Regions from separate parts of the Homo sapiens genome. Here region 1 is linked to region 2. Evidence: promoter capture Hi-C in human tissues and cell types (Jung and others, 2019). All regions are on one chromosome and are shown on one strand. Each heading gives the region's core, a stretch centred on a gene start or on the middle of the fragment in contact. The rest is flanking DNA. Distances are from core to core; before and after follow the strand shown. Region 1 overlaps FAM13A (family with sequence similarity 13 member A). Region 2 holds the start of NAP1L5 (nucleosome assembly protein 1 like 5).

Region 1 (3,251 bases), core at 158-2,657, 52 kb after region 2:
TGGTAACATTTTCTTTGATTACATGGAATGTTTCCCTAACACTAATTGCTGAGAAAGCTTTAGCCACATCAGCCTGTATGATGCTCTCAGAATGTGGCATCCTTGCTCCTTCAGTGGTTAAAGGTATTTAGTGATCTAATGCCCAGCCACTGGCCAACCTTTTCTGTATGACTTACACACCTTATTCTGAAATTAGGTTCACTTTGTATTCTATTTAGTTGTTTACATGACTGTGTCTCTGAAAAGATGGGAATCTCTTTGAGGGATGGAGGCCATACCCTTTGCAGATTCATCTCTGTGTCTACTTGTTTGCTTCTACCACCACAGCAAATGGAGACTTGGATTAAACAGGTGTTGAGAGATGCTGACTTGAAACCATCATCCTTCTATTAGTGATCCAGGGAAATGAAGAAATGCTGCAGAATTCGCCTCTTAGCTGATCGGGTTGCCCTGTGACTGAGACCATGTGAAGACCTGGGGAAGTGGTCACTCTGAATAGCTGAGAGTGCTGGGAAGCATCTTTAAGGACCGGGGAATGCCTTAGCAGTGGCACTCAGTGGGAGAGGAGGTGAGAGATTCTGCACCTGGCTTGTTGTACAGAAGCCACAGCTCCAGAATTTTACCCACCTTTAAGTTGTCTCCGGAATTTGGCAAGGTCATTTGTCCATTTCAGAACCTCCGGATTGGCTGCTTTGTCACTGTGGGAAGGCTGAGAAAAGGAAGTCTAGAGTAAATGCTTTGGAACTGGAGCAGGGAAAGTAAGAAGTGTTTGATGATCATTTTTGTTTTAAATAGGAAGGAAAAGTTGAGCCCCATCAGAATAAGAAATTAAACACGACCAATCAGAGCAAATGTCACAAATGTAATTCCATTATCCTTCTTTATATTTGGTTATTGTGATGCTTTCAAAAAATTCCTCAGAGGCAAAATGCATCTTTATGATCAGTGACTTCTGTGAGGTCCATGACCCCCTTGCCATTATTTGTAGGGTTCAACCTGTAAGACGAACAGTGTAGAAAACAGAGGGGTATATGATGTTTTGCTCAGCAACCGTCACAAAAATGCCTTTTTGCCACTCTTGTGGTACAGAGCTGACAGCAGAACGAGCTCAGTGCTAACAAGATTTCAGAAGATAATATTGAATTAAATTTTAGTCAAACAAAGGATTTCATTCAACAATTTCTCCAGTTCCTGCTTACTGATTAATTTATAAAATGTAGACTTAAGCTTTCATTTTTTTTTTTGTAAGAATACACTTGTGCAAGGAAAATGCTGATACATAATGACTGGGGTTTATCAGGGTGTACTATCCAGGGTTTACTGCCTTTTTGTTGTAAGATTCCCTAGAAGCCTCCCTTAACCTTTCGTCGTTTCTTTGAGTTGCTGAAATGCTGCCATGTCCAGGGAGAGGATGAGGCGAAAAGAACAGTGTGAGGGGACACTTACTCTGTACTTCTTCTCTTCTTCGAATCTATCTTCAAACTTCCGGATCTTCTTTTTAAGGCTCTGAATCCTTCGTGTGAGCTGGGCAGGTGTCAGGTCCTCTTGCTCATCATCATAGGACCCCAGAGAGGAGCTTCGCCGCCTGTGAAGAGTACGACTTGGGTCAGTTTCCCCAGGAGCAGTCACTGCTTGCCTAGAGGGGCCCTGGGGAAGTGGGACACCATGTGGCATGCGGTGGTGGGGTGGGGGCAGTGCGGAGACAAAACAGCCTCTCTCCTCTTGAATAAAAGACACTTGAGTGATCCATTGGAGCTTGGTATGTCCCACCTATTAAGTACATCTAGGCTTTCTAGCTCACATTTATAATTAGCAAAGTAGGACTGGACATCAACCTTTCCTGTGGGCCTACAAGAGCTGAATTGGAGAGCGCTTTGGAAAGGAGACGCTAAGAAAATTCAATATGTGATGTTGCAGTTGGGCCACAGCTCAAATGGGAAACTACAACATGGCCTGTGTCCTAGGATGGAGAATTTCAAATATGTTGCTCCATAGGCTCACGACTTAATTAAAAAAAATTATTCACTATCAGTGCCATTCCTCTTTTCTGATGTTGTGGGGATGATGCATTTGTCTATCAGCAACACAGAGAAACATACCTCATGAAAGAATGGGAGTTTGGTGGGGAAGGAGGCACTTCTGTGTCATCCAGGTATTGCCTGCTCTGCCCATAAGCGTAGAACCGAGGAGAGAGCATGGGGTCGCTGTCTTCGTCCAGCAGCTGACGGATCAGGCGCCCAGCCTGCGGCGAGAGGTGGGCTTCATCAGAGTCACTGTTCTCCCGCTGCCAGGAGGAGAAAGCAGGGATAGGCTCTGGAAGATAAGGGCAGTAAGATCAGGACTGTTCCTGAAAGAGGTCAGGGTTGTTCTTTAAAACACAAGTGTTTCCCAGGCTTCCCAGATGCTTTAGGAAGCTGCCCATTGAATCGTTTCTCATTTTACAGCTAAGGTCCAGGCTAAGGACACCGCGCCCCAACTGAAATCACCAATATGTCTGACAGCCATCATCTGTCTACCTCTCGTTTCCATTCTCACTGGCTTTCCAAAGAGAATTTGCTAGGCTACCCTGAGGAGCAGCCTTGAAGGGGGGAAGCCCAGTCAATTAGTGATAAAAACTCTTCCACGTGATGGCATCAATGAAAAGAAAATGTGCATGCCTGTAATCCCAGCACTTTGGGAAGCCAAGGCGGACGGATCACCTGAGGTCAGGAGTTTGAGACCAGCCTGGCCAACATGGTGAAACTCTATCTCTACTAAAAATACAAAATTTAGCTGGGCGTGGTGGCGGATGCCTGTAATCCCAGCTACTGGGGAGGCTGAGGCACGAGAATTGCTTGAACCCAGGAGGTGGAGTTTGCAATGAGCAGAGATTGCGCCACTGCACTCCAGCCTGGGCGACAGAGTGAGACTTTGTCTCAAAAAACAAACAAGCAAACAAAAAAAAACAAAGAAAAGAAAATGTGTTGGTGGGGGAGATATTTGGTATCACGGCTGTACATCCTTCACCAAACAACCGAGGAGTCAAGCTAAGGAACCACATCAATCTTGAGAGAGCCTATGTATTTAGGAGTTTATAACTTCCCTTGAGGTCATCCAGTAAGCTGTTTTGTGTGCTTCTGCTTAAGTGTGTTGGGATTAGCACATTTAAGATGCATGCTTTGCACTTGAAACTTCAGAAGCTGCTCAAGACTCCAGTTAGAGTGAGATGCATACATAAATTAGCCAACAGAAGAAAAACGAACACCTTACAA
Region 2 (3,656 bases), core at 402-2,901:
CCCTTTCTACTTCTGAGCTGGGGGTAGGGGCACACACTTGGATTGGTTCTTCAAGTATATATTTTTTCCAAACATTAGCTTCAGTGAAGAGTTCTGATGATTTTCACAGCTACACCCTAAAAGCTACATGACAGAAAGACGTCACAAGGCGCAAAGTACATAACGCTGGATACACATGCTTTACATAATTTGCTACATTCTACATCTCTTCAAGTAAATTAATATTTCTAAAACGCTAGGTAAAGTGATTTAATACTTAAACATATTTGGGGTATTTTTTACGTGTTTGTAAATAGACAGTACTAAGAAAACACAAACATGAGATTGTAACTAATGAATACATATGTTGACAGTATTTTACAGGTTTTACACCCTCCTTCTTGGAACCATGTTGTTTCTCTAAATTCAAATACTCAAAACATTTTTCAGAACTTGAAATGGCAGTTTTCCTGGCCTTATTAACAGTAGTGTCATGATCTCCATTGCAATCTTCCTCAATGCCATCAATCTCCTGTGAAGTGTAAAGCTGATGTCTGCGTTACAAAAGCAAAGTCTCAAAGATGACGTTTTTCTTGGGTTCTGCCTTCTCTGCACTGCGAAATGTCATGAGTAAAGAAATTTAAGAATTAAGCACTGAGAACGTGTTCAGTCATGGCTTGGGTGTTCCATGTGTAGCGTATGCTGTGTGATGAATGGGTTTCAAAGTGACGTTCTTTACTTCGCATCTGCTAACACCCTTTGTAAACCTCAATCCTCAGAGAAGAGACCATGAAAACATAATTTTGGGTTTAATTCAGTTTTCTTTAACACCTTTTGATATATTTATTATGTTCAAAATGAAAGTCAAATTTGAATCGAGCTGGCCAGGATCTAATTGCTTTAATTTAATCTATTTTAGGAATGTCAGAATAAATTCACATTGTATTTTGGTCAAAAACCTGAGCCTTTTTAAGTCCATCGATATTCTGGGAAAAACAAAACCAGGCTTTTTTCTTCGTGGGCTTTCTCTTCATCCATCTCTGCCCCCCTTACTTCTTGGCGTCATCAGGCATCTCGGCGTGGGCATCGTCATGTTTGGCCCCCGCGGCAGCCTCTGCCGCAGCCTCCTCCTCCTCCTCGTCTTCCCCCTCCTCCTCGTCATCCTCGTACTCCTCTTCCTCCTCCTCCTCCCCCTCCAAGGTCCATGCACACCCCTCCATCTCGCCGGTGAGCTCTTGGATCTTGGCGAGTAGGGGCTTATAGATGTCATTATACTTTTTTTCCAGAGCCTGAAATTCCTTATCAAATTTGGCTTCTATCTTATCGCATCGCTTCTGCAGCTTTTTGAGGGCCAGGACTCGGCATTTCACCGAATTAGGCAGGCTCTCGATAAAGTCATTTTTCGGCTTTGGGGCATTCTCTGCAGGGGTCTGGGGCTCCTCAGCCATCTGACCAGCCGCGCTGTCAGGGTCACCAGCCGCGCTGTCACAGTCTCCACCCTGCGCACCGCCTTCCGCCATTACCTCCTCTGCCGCTGCCTCCGCCGCTGCCGCCGCCTGGCTAGGCTCCGCAGGCCCCTGGTTTTCCGAGTCGGCCATGTTAGAGGAGAAGCCGCAGAGGTCTAGGAGGGCTCCCGCAGAGGCCCTGCACCCGAGCTGGTCCAGAGAGATCTTGCGGATGCGGCAAGTGGCGGTGACGTGCGGCCGCGGGAATGACGTTGGCCGCGGCCCCGCCTCCTGCTTTCGCGGCACTTGACTGGCTTCCCACTATCAGCTGACGGCCGTGTGCTCATACTGCACCAGATTCCTCCTGTTGCTACCCTGACATCTTCTGGGCCCTCAACACCCGCCTGTTGGACAGACACCCTGTTCCCAGCCCACCCATGTACCCACCCCTGTAGAGCTGGGCTGGGAGTGTCAGTAGCTGCCCGAGGTGCTTCTTCAGGAACTGCATAGATGGCCTCAGACCATTTTCCGTGTGCTCCTCACCCCCATCCAGGCCCTTCTACAAATGCCAGTGCATATGTCTTCGCTTTCCTCTGCATCTCTCTCCATAGCTGGCGTTTGATCACCTCTTAGATTCCTCCGCATTCCTCTCCATGCAGTGGAGGAACGGGCAAGCTGGCTCCATTCCACCCCTTTGGGGACCTGGGGTGCATGTGTGTGGATAGGGCAGCTTGCATATCCAAGCTCTGTACCTATGTGTCCACCCAACACCCCCTTGGCCATCCCACACACCTAGCGGCATATATCTTGGTGGCAAGGTCGTCTCTCAGCAGGACTCCCCTGGAAGCAGTTTTGGAGCCATTTGGGTAGGAAATCTCAGAGCTCCCGGTGTCCTGGTGTGTGTTCTAGAAGATCCTACAGAATCTTTGGCCTGTGGGAAGGACTAAAGCTTGAGGAGGGCTGAAAAAAAGCAAGTCTTTCTAAAGCATGGGGCCCAGGGCCAAGGCCCCCTCTTATCTTGGTTAAAGCATGTGCCATCTATCCCACCCCGCTCACATTCGTCTTCCCTGCCTTCCCCCAACACCGTCTGCTTCCCTGCCTTCCCCACTATCTGTTTTCACACCTTTCCACACCACATCTTCTCCCTCCCTCCTGCCCCTCCCCCGCACTGACTTATGCCCCACCTTCTGCCCATCTTCTTCCCCGCCTTCTTCCCCACTCACTGCCTCCTTCCTCACCTTCCCCCCGCCGCACTGTCCTTTTCCCCACCTTCCTCACCCTCTTCTTCCCCACCCTCCTTACCCTCTTCTTCCCCACCTTCCTCACCCTCCTCACCCCCTTCTTCCTCACCCACTGCCTTCTTCCTCACCTTCCCCCCACCGAACTTTTTCCTCACGCTCCTCACCCTCTTCTTCCTCACCCTCTTCACCCTCTTCTTCCTCACGCTCCTCACCCTCTTCTTCCTCACCCTCTTCACCCTCTTCTTCCTCACGCTCCTCACCCTCTTCTTCCTCACCCTCTTCACCCTCTTCTTCCTCACGCTCCTCACCCTCTTCTTCCTCACCCTCTTCACCCTCTTCTTCCTCACGCTCCTCACCCTCTTCTTCCTCACCCTCTTCACCCTCTTCTTCCCCACCCCCTAGCCCCACCCTCTTCCCACCCACCCCCAGCCCCGCCTTCTTCTTCCCCACCCACCCACCCAGCCCCACCCTCTTCCTCCCCACCCACCCACGCAGCCCCACCCTCTTCTTCCCCACCCTGCCCACCATCTTCTTCCCCACGATCTGTCTTCTTCCCCACCTTCCCCCACGGTCTTCACCACCTTCCCCCAACCGTCTTCTTTACCCTGCTCACCATCTTCTTACTGGCTCACCATCTTCTCTGCCTTCTTTCTCACTCCCATATATCATCTCTTTTGATGGCTACAGCTGCCTTGAGATTAGGAATGATGTTTCTCATTTTACAGATAGTAAACTTAGAAGCAAATACAGTGAAATCATCTTACTGCATGTATCACTTAATTGGCAGATGCAGGGGCAGAAAACAGGCCTTTTGACCCCTATAGTATGGATGTTGTGACAGACTTTAAAAAAAAAATCCCACATTTTGGTTAAATTCATTTGACTAACTTAACTTGCTTAAAATATTTAGGGCATGTTCATCTTTCAAGATTTTTATTTTCCTGTCTCAACAGATCTTAAAACTTAGTGTTAAACCAGACTGTTTTTTAAA

What was found. Contacts are between HindIII fragments. The study calls those that stand out against the background at their distance.
Region 1: a contact is called between a fragment that was not itself captured here and the fragment with the promoter of NAP1L5 in region 2, in 4 of the 25 tissues and cell types used here (adrenal gland, aorta, dorsolateral prefrontal cortex and 1 more).

The regions. Positions count from the first base shown.
Region 1 is chr4:88,748,325-88,751,575 of GRCh38, forward strand. It overlaps FAM13A (family with sequence similarity 13 member A), which reads right to left. Exons shown (of 24, transcript NM_014883.4): 15 at 2,100-2,313; 16 at 1,447-1,585; 17 at 628-709. Among named protein-coding and RNA genes, the nearest start is that of FAM13A-AS1, 40 kb to the left of the region's middle. The HindIII fragment of the contact is 6,921 bases long and covers 1-3,251 here.
Region 2 is chr4:88,696,178-88,699,833 of GRCh38, forward strand. It overlaps NAP1L5 (nucleosome assembly protein 1 like 5), which reads right to left and starts at 1,652. Exons shown (of 1, transcript NM_153757.4): 1 at 1-1,652. The coding sequence starts at 1,577. The coding sequence ends at 1,029. The region is part of intron 23 of HERC3 (HECT and RLD domain containing E3 ubiquitin protein ligase 3); the gene reads left to right. RefSeq lists an enhancer at 1,742-1,801. The HindIII fragment of the contact is 8,909 bases long and covers 1-3,656 here.